Linked DNA regions of Homo sapiens: region 2 is linked to region 1. Evidence: promoter capture Hi-C in human tissues and cell types (Jung and others, 2019). All regions are on one chromosome and are shown on one strand. Each heading gives the region's core, a stretch centred on a gene start or on the middle of the fragment in contact. The rest is flanking DNA. Distances are from core to core; before and after follow the strand shown.

Region 1 (7,181 bases), core at 228-2,727:
AAAAGACACCCCCTGAGCCCAGAGGTGCACATCCTCTGTTTTCTAAAGTACAGAGGGAGCTTCCCCATTACCTTTAACAGGTGCTGATTTTCTTTGAGGCAAAATGATTCAATGGAATAAATACTGGGAAACGTGTAGGGACTTAAGCCTGGAATCTAGTCCGGCCTGACTTTCTACCGACTACCCAATGGACCTGGGCAGATCAATTTTGCTCCTATAACTTAGTTACTTTGATTCAGAACAACAAACCTTTACTGCATCCTCACTGTGAGACGGGCGGTGTTAACCATCCCAGGTAAACCCTTTAAATTTGGAATAAAAGTGCACCTTAAACTGGAGACACTTTTGTCCCTCCTGTACCTCCTTTGGGGGCCCACCCCTTCCTCCTTGCCTGTCGTCGGGGTTGATAACTGTATCCAGTGAAAATTTGTATTGGAATCCGGAGCATCCACCTCCCTCCACTTGCAGCCTGAGGAATTCTGACCCTTCGGTGATTTCCAAAAGCCTCTGAAATGCAGGAAGGGGGATCAAGAATAGCGGGAAACGGGAGTTAAAGGGCTGAGTGAAGAGCAGTTCCCGCTGCTCCCGCCAATCGCCTGGGTACCGCCGCTCCGCGTCCGGCCTCCTACCTGGACGCAACTGTCTGTGAGGCGGATCTGCCCTTCGCCGGCCTCGGGGCTGGAGGACGACGCCTCCCGACGCGCCTGGGGTCCCAGGGAGGCCGTGAGGAGCCTGCGCGCAAGGGAGGAGGGTGAGCCCGGGAGCAGAAGGGGCACCTTGCAACCCTCGACCTGGAGCGCCTCACGCTAAACCTGGCGACCCCCACCTGGACGGCCTCCCACCAAACCCTCGCATCCCCCACAGGCCTTAGTTTCCCATTTGTCCTAGAGGCGCAGAACCAAACACCCTTTCCAGGTGCCTTTCTAGTCTTGGTACCTGCCCCTCGGCCAGGGAGTGACCGCTCTCTGCGTCGCGGCCGTTAGGGACGACCCCCAGGCGGCAGCCATCTTCCTCCACAAGCTCCGCCCCTCGCGTCTCCCCCGTTTCTCACCCGGGGCCTCGGGAGGCGGAGAGAACGAACAGGAGGCCGGGACTTCACGGAGGCCCCGCCCCCCCAACATGCCTATTGGGTAGTGCGGGAGGAGAAGGTGTCTGATTGGCTAGGAATGCTCCAGACGGCAGCGGCGGGGACGCACCCAGGAAGCCGGAGAGGTGCTCTAAAGGGAAGGAACGGGGCGGGGAGGAGTGAGGCGGGGCGGGGCGGAGGTGGGTCCGGGCGGGTCAGGCCTCTGAGGGGATGGCATGGGCGGAGACTGCAGGCTTCTGGGCCTGAGAGGGCTGGAGCTGGCTTTCCGGAGCCGGGGGCGGGGCGCGGGCGGGCCTCAGCTGTGGTTACTGGTGACAGGTCGCCTGACTGGGCTCCTCCCCGGGCCCGCCCCGACAGGTTTGTCTTGTGACCGCGGGCGGCCGCTGCTTCTTTCCCGAGCTTGGAACTTCGTTATCCGCGATGCGTTTCCTGGCAGCTACATTCCTGCTCCTGGCGCTCAGCACCGCTGCCCAGGCCGAACCGGTGCAGTTCAAGGACTGCGGTGAGCCCCAGGCCCGCCCAAGGTTCCCGCGCCCTCTGTGGAAGGCCCCGCCGGACCCCCGCGCTGAGACCCCTGGGGCTGGGCTGGGCGGATCCCTCGGGCGGCCAGGCTGAGCCTTGGACCCTACCTAACTGGAATGGGCTGGGTCGGGGGAGAAGGCGCCGGCCTCCATGAAACCCGACCGCGCACAACTTTGTTTCTTTCCTTAGAACGCGTGTTTTGGGGTTCCTGGGAACTCCAGGAGGTGGGCCTTTTGCTGAAGTTTCCTAAAGTTTGTAGGGCGGACAACAGAAGGGCTGTATCCAGCTCTGGTGGAGGGGTGGAGCACAGAACTTCTTTTTATTTATGCTTTGTATCTTGGAATCCCGCCTCCCCCTTCCAACTCCTTTTGCTTTTCTTTTAATTTCGTTTTTGCTGACAAGTCAAAAGTCAATTCCCCTTTTTCATCATTTATTGTTACAAATAGGACTTCCTTTGGGCTTTGGAATCTTGTGATTCTTAATCAGTTTTTCCTTGTATAAATCTCATTGTGTCTCTAATCACAGCTTGTGATACATAACTCCCTCTCGCCGCTGTGGTTGGAATCTTTGTTGGAAAATACAACAGGTGGTAGAAATTCTGAGTGCCTTCATTGAGTCGAGTCTATAGAATTGTCGGAACAGAAACTCGAGCAATGTTGTTCAGAGGTGGAGATAGAGAGATAGAACTGTCAATGAAAGAGGCATGAAACTGACTTTGTAAGATCTATGAGTGGAAAGGAAGCACGGAGATCGTATAATCAATCATTGAATTCCAGGGATGTTGGGTAGCCTACCTAAAGTCACGCAGCAGAATGGGGAGCCAGAGTAAGTGTAACCGCCCAAGGGGTTCACCTTGCGCATTGCCTAGACAGAGCGGATTTATCAAGATGGGATTTGCAGTGGCGAAAAGAGTAATTCACGCAGAGCCGGCTGTGGGGGAGGCCGGAGTTTTATTGTTACTCAGATCAGTCTCCCCGAGCATTCGGGGATCAGAGTTTTTAAGGATAATTTGGCGGGTATGGGCTTGGAAAGTGGGGAGTGCTGATTGGTCAGGTTGAAGATAAAATCATAGGAGAGTCGAAGTGAGTTCTTCTTGCTGACCTCTGGGTGGTGTCATTTGCTGCATCGGAATGCAGGATCTGCAAAATATCTCAAGCACTGACCTTAGGTTTTACAATAGTGATATCATTACCAGGAGCAATTTGGGGAGGTTCAGACTCTTACAGCCAGAGGCGGCGTGGCCCCTAAACTCGTAGCTAATTTGTTAGTCCTACAAAGGCAGACCGGTCCCCAGGCAAGAAGGGGTTTTTCAGGAAAGGGCTATTATCCATTTCGTTTCAGAGTTTAAACTATAAATTCCTCTCCAAGACTAGTTCAGCCTACACCCAGGAATGAACAAAGACAGTTTAGAGGTTAGAAGGAAGATGGGTAGGTGAGTCCTGATCTCTTTCACTGTCTTAATTTCCTCAGGATTTTTGCAAAGGCGGTTTCATAAGTTTGCTGCTTTATATCCAGTGCCCAGGTAATAGTAACTGCTCAATGAAATGTGTTGAAAACATAGATGGAAATCTTTTTCCCCTATGTCATAAAAATTCATGTTGAGACAAAAGCAAAGTTGGGGATTAGGGGACAGGATTGATTAAGGAATGGAGTGCTGGCCGATTAACACTTAAATGCTATTCCATTGATTTAGGAGACTGGCACTTGAAAGCTATTATCGCTTCAAATTACTGCCTTTCCCTCCATTAAACTTAGTAGCCAGCGTTTGGATGAAGACACTATTAATTTTAATAACTCATTCCGGCCAGGCACAGTGGCTCACACCTGTAATCCCAGCACTTTGGGAGGCCAAGACGGGCAGATCACGAGGTCAAGAGATTGAGACCATCCTGGCCAACATGGTGAAACCCCATCTCTACTAAAAATACAAAAATTAGCTGGGCATGGTAGTGTGCACCTGTAGTCCCAGCTACTCGGGAGGCTGAGGCAGGAGAATCGCTTGAACCCGGGAGGTGGAGGTTACAGTGAGCCAAGATCACGCCACTGCACTCCAGCCTGGCGACAGAGCAAGACTCCGTCTCAAAAAAATAAAATAAAATAAAATAACTCATTCCATCCTCACAAGCTGTCTTACAGATGAGGAAAGCGAAGCACATAGAGTAACTTGCCCAAGATCTCACACCCAGTAAGTGGTAGGAAACCGTGGGTCTTTGTGAGCCACTTTGGGTTTCCAAAAAAAGAAGGGAAATAAATCCAGAAATTATTCTACTTATTTGAAAAAGCAGGAGTACACCTATGGGAAGAAGCTTTTAAAGGGAAGAAGGGTTTCAGTTACAGATTTATAATTTACTTTTGAATTGGGAAATATGATATAAAGACTTCAGTGCCCACATCAAAGATTTTTGTGTTCCACTCTACACCCACCTTCCCTGGCGTGGGATTTCCTCAAGTGAGAAAGTGGACCAAGCAAACTAATTTTGTAATGTTTGCTGGTTAGAACAGAGGAGTTTGTTCTATTGACACTGGAAGTCTAAGAACCTCTTGTCATCAGAAAACTGGATGAAAGAGCTATAAGTACTACCCTTTACTTACTTCCTACTAGATTATGTGACTCAGCCTTGAAAGAAGCAGGTGGAAGCTGGACATTGAAAGCCTTAACATTAGCACTGATTTTCAATAGATTGTTGATTGAAGTTCGGGATTTCTTTTTTCCCTATTCACCAAAAATGGGTTGGAGTGGAAGAGAGTGTTTCTCAAACTGTTTTGGATGCTTAAGAGTGTGTGCAGTTTAAGAACTTTGCAATGATGGAGAAGCAAGCTGAGGGATAAAGGACTGCAAGGTACTATTTACTGACCTAGCTGGAGCAGTGTTGGTCAGTGTGATGATAGTTAAAGAGACTGTTCCACCCAAGGGTAGGTACAGGCAGCAAAGAACATCTACTTAGATTTCTGAGTTCATATCATACTTTTATAGTACTGAGCTAATCTGGTGACTGACTGCATAGCAGATAATGTACTCTCAACCTGCAGTTTGCCTCTGTCTTCATGCATTCCACTTTTGAGACAGAAAGAGTCCATCCTATTGGCTAGAAACATAATTTCTATCCACAAAGTATATTTGAGGTGAGAGGTCCAGTTTTTGTGTCAGAAGGGAACTTGCTAACCTACCCAGGAGCAGCTATTCTAGATTAAACTCATGGACTAAATCCAGATATGATAATAATAGTAAATATATGTATCACTATGTTCCAAACACTTACCTAAGATCTGTATTTGTGTTAGCTCAGCTACACCATTATCTCCAGAGAGGTAAAGTATCTTGCCTTGAGGCTATACAGTAAGTAGCAGAGATAGTGAGATTTCAAACCCAGGCATCCGGCACCAGAGTCTGCCTCTCAGCAATGATGGCTGAATGGCAGAACTTAACTTACCCTGTTACAGGCACTGTTATCAGGCAGTTCACCTGCATTCTCTCCCATTCAACTGCCCAGTCTCTGGGGCAGGAGGAAATGGGATTTTTAAAGGCTTTATTTAAACCTTTTTTGGTCAAGCATTTATTGTATACAAGTACTTTTGTCCTTGGTTAGACTGAGATTAAAATACATACATACACACACAGACACACACACACACACTTATTTTAAGAACGCAGGTTCCCAAAATCGAGTATACATCTGTAGATTGCAGATGTGTGCTTAAAATCAGTTTTTGAAACTACTTAGAAACAACCTGGACAAGTCAGATGAATCCAATTTCTTTTCTTAAATTTTTTAATTTTGAAAAATATGTATTTGTTTTGAGGATTCCCAGGGATAAATCCTATTTCTGACTCTTTCTAGTACCTTCTTAGGTCTCATCCTTATGTTTTTAACATATGCAGTATTTGCAAGTGTATCATTCCCAGCAGCTATATAGACCTAGGCCAAGTTAATATTTCAGAGGAAATGAAACCCAGACTCAGGTAGCAGTATTCTTCTTTAATGCAGCTGGCACTTCTGCCATCTTGGCTGTGTGAGTCAGTGCTATTTGGAGTTAAGCTTAACTTGTGCCCTAAGCTTGTACTGAAACTATAAAGACCTTAACCTCTGTACTCCTCTTCATCCCCTTGATTCTTGGAAAAAATCCAGATCTTAACAACCTTAGTCAAGATTTAAGGTACTTCCTGTTGTTTTTGGAGCCAAAATATTTCATGACTCATAAGTGGGCCTTAAAGAACAGGACTAAATCATTGAAGAAACTGCAGAAGTGCAGTGAAAATGGTGCAGTTCCCAATTCAGAAGTGGGAGGTAGTTCCTCTCTTAAGGGTCATTCCTAGTTCAGAGATGGTAGGTGGTTTTTCTGTTTAGGGTCACTCCTCTGTTCAGTGTTAAGTGGTAGTTCCTCTTAAATTCCATAGTCTGCTTACTCGGAAGTGAGTAGGCTTCTGGAATCAGTCTTATTTTATTTTATTTTATTTTTTGAGACAGAGTCTTGCTCTGTCACCCAGGCTGGAGTGCAGTGGCGCAATCTCGGCTCACTGCAACCTCTGCCTCCCCAGTTCAAGCGATTCTCCTGCCTCAGCCTCCTGAGTAGCTGGGATTACAGGTGAGCACCACCATACCTGGCTAATTTTTGTATTTTTATTAGAGACGAGGTTTCACCATGTTGGTCAGGCTGGTCTCGAACTCTTAACCTCTTGATCCACCTGCCTTGGCCTCCCAAAGTGCTGGGATTATAGGCATGAGCCACCATGCCCACCCTTGAATCAGCCTAATTTTAAAAGCCAAGACTGATATTCTGACACTTTTCATCGTTTTACCTATACCTTTAATAGTGCTGCTTATTTCTCTAGGAAGTCAAGTTGGGGTGAAAGAAAGAAGGGATTCCAGGAAGACAAAATACTGGGCAAAGGATTTACCAGCAGTTTGGGAGAAAGGGTACAAAATCTGGATAGAAGATACTTCATCACTGAAAATCACAGAGGATATAGGGGTTGAACCTCTACGATAGAAAGAGAATCATGGTGAGGGGCAAAGAGGCGATGCTGAATTAAGAAACCTGAAAAGTTGAGTTTGAGACAGACCTTCATCCAGAGTCCTCAAGTAGTTCTCAGATGCAAATTTCCTTGGGGTGTCCTTCCATTCATCAACATGGCTGCGTATTTAAAGCTTCTTTCAGGTTCCGGTAACAAGGGCTTCCAAGTCAGGCCCACCCATTGAGTCTTCGATCTGCCCCTTCCAGGCAATGTGACCTTGGACAAATCTCAGTAATCTTTGCTCTTCTGGTTTCTAACCCCTAAAACAAGGATGATAAATACCATTGTTGTGAGATGTTTTCTTCAGATGCCTCTGCTTTCCTTCATTCTTGCTAGTCAAGGTACAATTTCCATAGAGTCTAAAAATGAATGATTCAGGAACTAAAAACTCTTGAAGCCAGATTCAAGAAAGGTTCAGTCTGTTTTGGGATCTGGCAGACTTTCCAAGCAATAATAGCAGACTCCCTCAATCAGTGTTTGCTCATGTAGAACTTGAGGTAGAAAGATGTTGTAATTCATTTCTGATCTTCCTCCGCGGAGTTTCAGGCTCTACATTTG
Region 2 (7,181 bases), core at 475-2,974, 370 kb after region 1:
ACAGATCTACTTCCAATAACCAGGATCTCTGAAATCCCAGGCTAGTTTTCTTTATACTCACATGGCAATGTGCTTCTCTGGGGGATGAAGGGGAGAACAGAAGCCATGGTCTTTTGGTAACTTAATCTCAGAAGTGGGATTCCATCACTTTTACTATCATTAGGTCCAGCCCACCCTCAAGAGATGATTAAACAAGGGCACACTAGTAGCAGGGATCACTGGGGACCGTCTTAGAGGGTGCCTACCACACCACGGTTCTATATTTAATGCTACACATCCTCCTGGCTTCTCTCATCTATGGCTTTAAATAAAACCTATGGATCAAGGATCCAAATTCCCTGTGCTCTAGTATCTATTCAATTGTCTCCTAGGTATTTATTTCCACCTAGATAGCCTACAGATACACTTATAAATGAACTCCCAAATCTTTCTTCTCAAAGGTCTTCTTCTTCCTATATACACCTAAGCTAGAAACCTAAGAATTGTTCTTGGTTCCTCATTCTTACTGCCCAGGACTTCCCAATCCCAATATATCCAATCAGTCACTAAAACTTTCCATTCTCCTACTAGGATTTATAGAACCCATCCTTTATGCTCCAGTAATATTTCTACTGTCTTAGTTCAAGGGCTTACCATTGTAGTCTAGTTTACTAAAGTAATCTAACTCATCTCCCTGTTGCTATTTTCATTCCTCACCAATCTACCTTCTACCATGTTAGCAAAGTGACCTAAGAATGTAAATATGATCAGATGTCTACCATGCTTAAAATTTCTCATATGCTGCTCATAAGAGTAACAACAGTTAATAGTTTTTAAGAACTTATTAAGATCCAGACAGTGAGCTAAGAGTTTTATAAATAAGGCTGTATCAAATCATCAAAATAATACTCTAAGGCAACAAATCTCAAAGTGTGGTCAGGGAACACCTGCAGATCCTGGGCTCGCCATACTTCTTTTGGGGGTCCACTAGGTCAAAACTGGTTTTTGTTTTTGTTTTTGTTTGTTTGTTTTGTTTTTTTGAGACAGAGTCTCACTCTGTCACCCAGGCTGGAGTGCCGTAGCACATGATCTTGGCTCACTGCAACCTCTGCCTCCCAGGTTCAAGCAATTCTCCTGCCTCAGCCTCCCAAGTATTTGGGATTACAGGTGCCTGCCACCATACCCAGCTAATTTTTATATTTTTAGTAGAGACAGGGTTTCACCATGTTGGTCAGGCTGATCTCAAACTCCTGACCTCAAGTGATCTGCCCATCTTGGCCTCCCAAAGTACTGGGATTACAGGTGTGAGCCACTGCACCCGGACAGGTAAAAATTATTTGTATAATACTAAGATGCTCTTTTCACTCATACTCTCACAAGTGTCCAGTGAAATTTTCTAGAGCCTAAAATATCCTAACATATTTTAAATAAAATAGAAACAAAGAATACTACAATGAATAATCATATACTCTTCACCTGCTCACCAACTGTTAACATTACACACTTGCTTCATCTATTTATATTTTTAAATTTTGTTGTTTTATTCCTGAGCTATCTGAGAGCTAGCTGCAGACACCATGATAGTTCATCCCTAAATACTTCAGCATTGTCTCCTAAGAACAAGGATATTCTCCTACATAGCTACAATATAATTAACAAACTCAAAAAATTTAACACAATACAATTATCTGATTTTCAATCCATAATAAAATATCTCCAATTTGAACATAAGTTTTAAATTTTACTACAGTTCCGTTTAGCAATATTCTCCTTTTTGGTTAATGACACTCCTGTTCTTTTAATTTGGGTTATAATAATGTCAAAGCTGTAGCATCTCAGAAATAAAATACTACATTACTAGTGTGAATTCTTTTCTTCCTCAACCTCTTCTCATGGGAATATGAGAATATTGTTACTGGTTACATGATAAACAAAAATTCCAGTGGAGAAAGTGAAGGTGTGTTTGAGACCAGCCTGTCCAACATGGTGAAACCCCGTCTCCACTAAAAATCCAAAAATTAGCCACGCGTGGTGTGCGCGCCTGTAATCCCAGCTATTCGGGAGGCTGAGGCAGGATAATCACTTGAACCCGGGAGGCAGAGGTTCCAGTGAGTTGAGATGGCGCCACTGCACCCCAGCCTGGGTGACGGAGTGAGACTCCGTCTTAAAAAAAAAAAAAAAAGAAAGTGAAGGTGTGTTTTCCTCTTTCCTTAACTCACTGTTTTCTTGATTTGATGTGTAAGTTTTCTGACAAACTTGTTGAGTGATATATTTTTTAATGTATTACCATCATTATTTGAAAATTTTTGGAAAACCACTTTCCTGGAAAAACCAAAGCATCTTTAACTATTTTCTTTAACTATTTGCTAACTAACTTCGGCACTATGTGATAAAAGCATTTGCAATAATGACTTCACTATTCAGTTGATGCATTAAAGTATCTTAGAATTGGAAAGGAACGAATAAGGAAAATGTTAGTCTCACATTAGTCATTAAAACTTGCATCACTTACTTATGAAATCAATAGATGAAATCTGTTTGTTACATGCATGAAAATCATTATGGCTAGTGGTATAAGAAATATAGAGTAAATCAATAATATAGAATGGAAACAGCAGATCTAAGCAATGGAGAATTGCTGAATAGAGAAAAGTTGTTTGGGTGGGGACAGGGAAACCTCTGGGAATTATATGGGAGCCACTGATTTCTGTTGGGTTATAATGATTTAGGTCAATGCTCTGCTGATAGAATTTACAACTTGACTCCAAGGGGAAAATCTACTGTGTATAGTTTATTTTTAGAAATACTTGTGCCTACTACATGGTTTTTTTTGGAATAGTTTTAAGCTTTTTTTCTTTCTTTGAGACAGAGTCTCCCTGTGTTACCTAGGCTGGACTCAAACTTCTGGGCTCAAATGATCCTCCCACCTCAGCATCCAGAGTAGCTGAAACTACAGGTGCATACCACTGAGCCTGGCTTGAAACTTTTTTTTTTCTTGAGACAGAGTCTCGCTCTGTTGCCCAGGCTGGAATGCAGTGGCTCACTGCAACCTCCTCCTCCTGGGTTCAAGTGATTCTCCTGTCTCAGCCTCCTGAGTAGCTGGGACTACAGGCGCACGCCACCAAGCCCAGCTAATTTTTTTTTTTTTTTTTTGAGAGGGAGTCTCACTCTGTTGCCCAGGCTGGAGTGCAATGGCACGATCTCGGCTCACTGAAACCTCCGCCTCCCAGGTTCAAGCGATTCTCCTGCCTCAACCTCCCGAGTAGCTGGGATTACAGGCACCCACCACCAAGCCCGGCTAATTTTTGTATTTTTAGTAGAGACGGGGTTTCACAATGCTGGCCAGGATGGTCTCGAACTCCTGACCTCAGGTGATCTGCCCACCTCGGCCTCCCAAAGTGCTGGGATTACAGGTGTGAGCTACCACGCCTGGCCTACTTTTTGTATTTTTAGTAGAGACAGTGTTTCACCATATTGGTCAGGCTGGTCTCGAACTCTTGACCTTAGGTGATCCACCGGCCTTGGCCTCCCGAAGTGCTGGGATTACAGGTATGAGCCACTGCGCCTGGCCAAAACTTTTTTAAAGATTTCAAATTTCAACAAATAAAAAGTTGGGGGAAAAAACTCTTTGGTTCATTAAAACATACCATTAAGAAAATTAAAAGGGAAGCTACAAAGTGGAATATTTGCAATTTATGTGACTGACAAAGGGTGGATATCCAGAATATATAAACAGTACTTACAAATCATTTTTTTAAAGACTGATAATCCAAGCCAGGCTCAGTGGCTCATGTCTGTAATCCCAGCACTTTGGGAGGCCGAGGCAGGCGGATCACCCGAGGTCATGAGTTTGAGACCAGCCTGGCCAACATGGTGAAACTCCATCTTTACTAAAAATACAAAAATTAGGCACACGTGGTAGCGTGCACCTGTAATTCCAGCTACTTGGGAGGCTGAGGCAGGAGAATCGCTTGAACCCAGGAGGTAGACATTGCAGTGAGCTGAGATCGTGCCATTGCACTCCAGCCTGGGCGACAAGAGTGAAACTCCATCTAAAAAAAAAAAAAAAAAGAATAATCCAGTAATCCAGTTTTTAAAGATGGGCAATGGGCAAGAGACACTAATAAGGACTTCACAAAAGATGTTATCCAAATGGCCAATAAACATACAAAAAGGTGCTCAACCTCATTAGTCATTAAGGAAATGCAAATTAAAACCACATTAAGATACCATTTATTAGAACGACTAGAAGTTAAAAGACTGAGAATACACCTGTTGGTAAGGACTTGGAGCAACTGAAATTGCTGATAGGTTTGTAAATTGATATAACCACTTTGGAAAACTATTAATATTTGGAAGTACCTACTAAAGCTAAATATACATATACCCCTATGATCTAGCAATTCCACTTCCTAGTTATATATCCAATGAAAATGCATGTACGGCCCAGGTGCGGCGGCTCATGCCTGTAATCCCAGCATTTTGGGAGGCCAAGGCGGGCGGATCACGAGGTCAGGAGATCGAGACCATCCTAGCTAACACAGTGAAACCCTGTCTCTACTAAAAATACAAAAAAAATTAGCTGGGCGTGGTGGGGGGGCGCCTGTAGTCCTAGCTATTCGGGAGGCTGAGGCAGGAGAATGGCATGAACCCAGGAGGCGGAGCTTGCAGTGAGCCAAGATGGTGCCACTGCACTCCAGCCTGGGCAACAGAGCAAGACTCTGTCTCAAAAAAAAAAAAAAAAAAAGAAAGAAAATCCATGTACCAAAAAAAGATATATATCAAAAATACTAACAGTATTTATTTGTAATAACCAAAAGCTGGAAATAGTCCAAATATCCATCATTAGTAGAACGAGGAAATAAATTGTGGTAACTTCTTACAATGAAATACTATATAGCAATGGGAGAAAACCCAAATGATATGGCCGATGTCATAATTTAAACGCTGATCAAAAGTCAGACACAAAAGAGTATGTGATTTGTTATTCCATTTACATAAAGTTCAAAGATAAACAAAATTATTCTATGATAGTATAAGTCACAGTAATGCTTTGAGAGGAAGGGGCAAGTAGGGACTAGAAGGGGCACAAAGGAGATTTTGTATTTATGTACTAGAAAGGTGTTTTGTTTTGAGATAGGGTCTCACTCCTGTCACCCAGGCTGGAGTACAATGGTGTGATCTTGGTTCACTCCAGCCTTGACTTCCCAGGTTCAGGTGATCCTCCCACCTCAGCCTCCCAAGTAGCTGGGACTACAGGTGTACACCAGCAGGCCCGGCTAATTTTTGTATTTTTTGTAGACACTGGATTTTATCATGTTGCCCAGGCTGGTCTGGAATTCCTGAGCTCAAGTGATCTGCCAGCCTCAGCCTCCCAAAGTGCTGGGATCACAGGCATGAGCCACAGCACCAGGCGCAACGTTCTGTATCTTGATCTGTTTTGACCAACGGTTACAGGGGAGTGTTAATTTTATGAAAATCATTGAGTTGTACATTATAATTTGTGTGCTTTTCTTTATATACATTATACTTCAATGTTAAAGCTTATTAAAGAACAAAAAATGATGGGACAGTAGAATATTTTTATATTCTGAATCAGATTGAATTCTCATTTTAGCTCTTTCCTCTTTTTATTTACTTATTTTTTGACACAGGGTCTCACTCTGTCATCCAGACTGGAACGCAGTGGCATGATCATAGCTCACTGCAGTCTCAAACTCCTGGGCTCAGGTGATCCTCCCACCTCAGCCTCCCCAGTAGTTGGAACTACAGGAATTTTCAGCTTGTCCGGCTCTCTTTTCTCTTTTCATTCAATATCCAAAACTTCAACCTATCAGATTCAACTCTCCATTGAAAGGACGTCTTTACCGTTATCCAACCATTCAGTCTTAAACGTGTCCTCCTACAATAGAGTCAGTCAAATACAACTACACCTGAGAAAACAAATCATTACTTCTATTTTATTTTTCAAATTTTTTTTGGTTATACCAAACCGAAAAGTAACAAGCTTTTAGTTTAGACTTAACAGTTAGAGATACTTCTCTTATACATATGCCAAAGTCATTATTTCTCCAGATTTCCTGTGACAAAGTATTTTGTGATCATTTATAAATTCCCATGCATTATCGCTACCTTCCAGATCATATTATCAACACAAACCAGTGGAAAGTACCAGAAAGAAATAAAGAAACGGGCACTACATTTGAAATACAAAAACACTCCTTATTTTGTTGAAATTTCTAGAACATCAATAACTAAAAAACAAACGAAAGCAGAAAAATGCCAATTTATTTCCCCATGGGCAGAAACAGTCATTCTTAAACCCAAAGCCTGGAAAGAAACTGAACTCCTATGAACACTTTTGTAATCACTTTAGTTCTCATCACCTCTTTGTTATACAAAAACTACTTTCAAAGCCCCCCCGCCAAAAAAAAGAAATCCAGGTCCATTTCACCTCTCAGCCAAACAGCTGCAGTTCTATTTAAGATTGACAGACATTCCAAATGGTTCTTTGCTCCTACTGAGTACTTAATACCAAGAGTTCACAGTTCTCCAACTACAGTGAAGACAGCCCGAAAACATAAAGTAACATCTTGGCCAACATTTGCTTAAGAAAATATGCTTCTTTGGCCAACTAAATCGTCTCTTGCCCATGACCCAACAGCCTACCATTTCTTTTGCTCTCAATTCCTACTTATGCAAGCACATCCTGAGTATGGGAAATGAGATATGTATGGGAAACATTCACCTTGCTATTTATCACTTGTATAAACTGATCAATTGTTAATGGATCTACTCATTTTTATTTAGAAACAGTCCACAGAAGAGCTCAAAAATTTAACTGCCTAGAAAATTCAGAGATTTAAGTACAATTTTGTTTCTAAAATGGCATACAACTTTTCCTTATTTTTTTAAGTAGTATTTTTTTCCTATTCAACAGACTAGAATGTGTTTTTGTTAATTTGGAAAATTCAGAAAATTTTAAAAACCACTCAAGATAGTCATTAAAACATACTGGTGTATTTCCTTCCAGCCATTTGTCTATGTCCATGCTCTCAAAAGAAAAAAAAAAAAAAACACCTGCTGTAAAATTGTATGTTCTGCATTTTGTCACTTGCTATTATCCTTATATATAATGAATACCTTTCTGTCATGAAATGCCCTTTAGTGCTTTTTTTCTTTTCTTTTTTTTTTTTTTAGAG

The links. The method cuts DNA at HindIII sites, captures the fragments that hold promoters and counts their contacts. A contact is called where the count stands out against the background at its distance.
Region 2: a fragment that was not itself captured here is called in contact with the fragment with the promoter of NPC2 in region 1 in 1 of the 25 tissues and cell types used here (hippocampus).

What each region holds. Positions count from the first base shown.
Region 1 is chr14:74,487,601-74,494,781 of GRCh38, reverse strand. NPC2 (NPC intracellular cholesterol transporter 2) reads left to right here and starts at 1,477. Exons shown (of 5, transcript NM_006432.5): 1 at 1,477-1,589. The coding sequence starts at 1,508. ISCA2 (iron-sulfur cluster assembly 2) reads right to left here and starts at 1,017. Exons shown (of 4, transcript NM_194279.4): 1 at 937-1,017; 2 at 630-732; 3 at 392-507. The coding sequence starts at 1,007. RefSeq lists enhancers at 935-1,014, 5,793-6,992 and silencers at 1,215-1,494, 1,665-1,724. The HindIII fragment of the contact is 6,262 bases long and covers 1-4,781 here.
Region 2 is chr14:74,116,706-74,123,886 of GRCh38, reverse strand. All of the region lies in intron 5 of LIN52 (lin-52 DREAM MuvB core complex component), which reads right to left. All of the region lies in intron 1 of LOC105370563 (a long non-coding RNA gene), which reads left to right. Among named protein-coding and RNA genes, the nearest start is that of LIN52, 35 kb to the right of the region's middle. The HindIII fragment of the contact is 4,900 bases long and covers 1-4,174 here.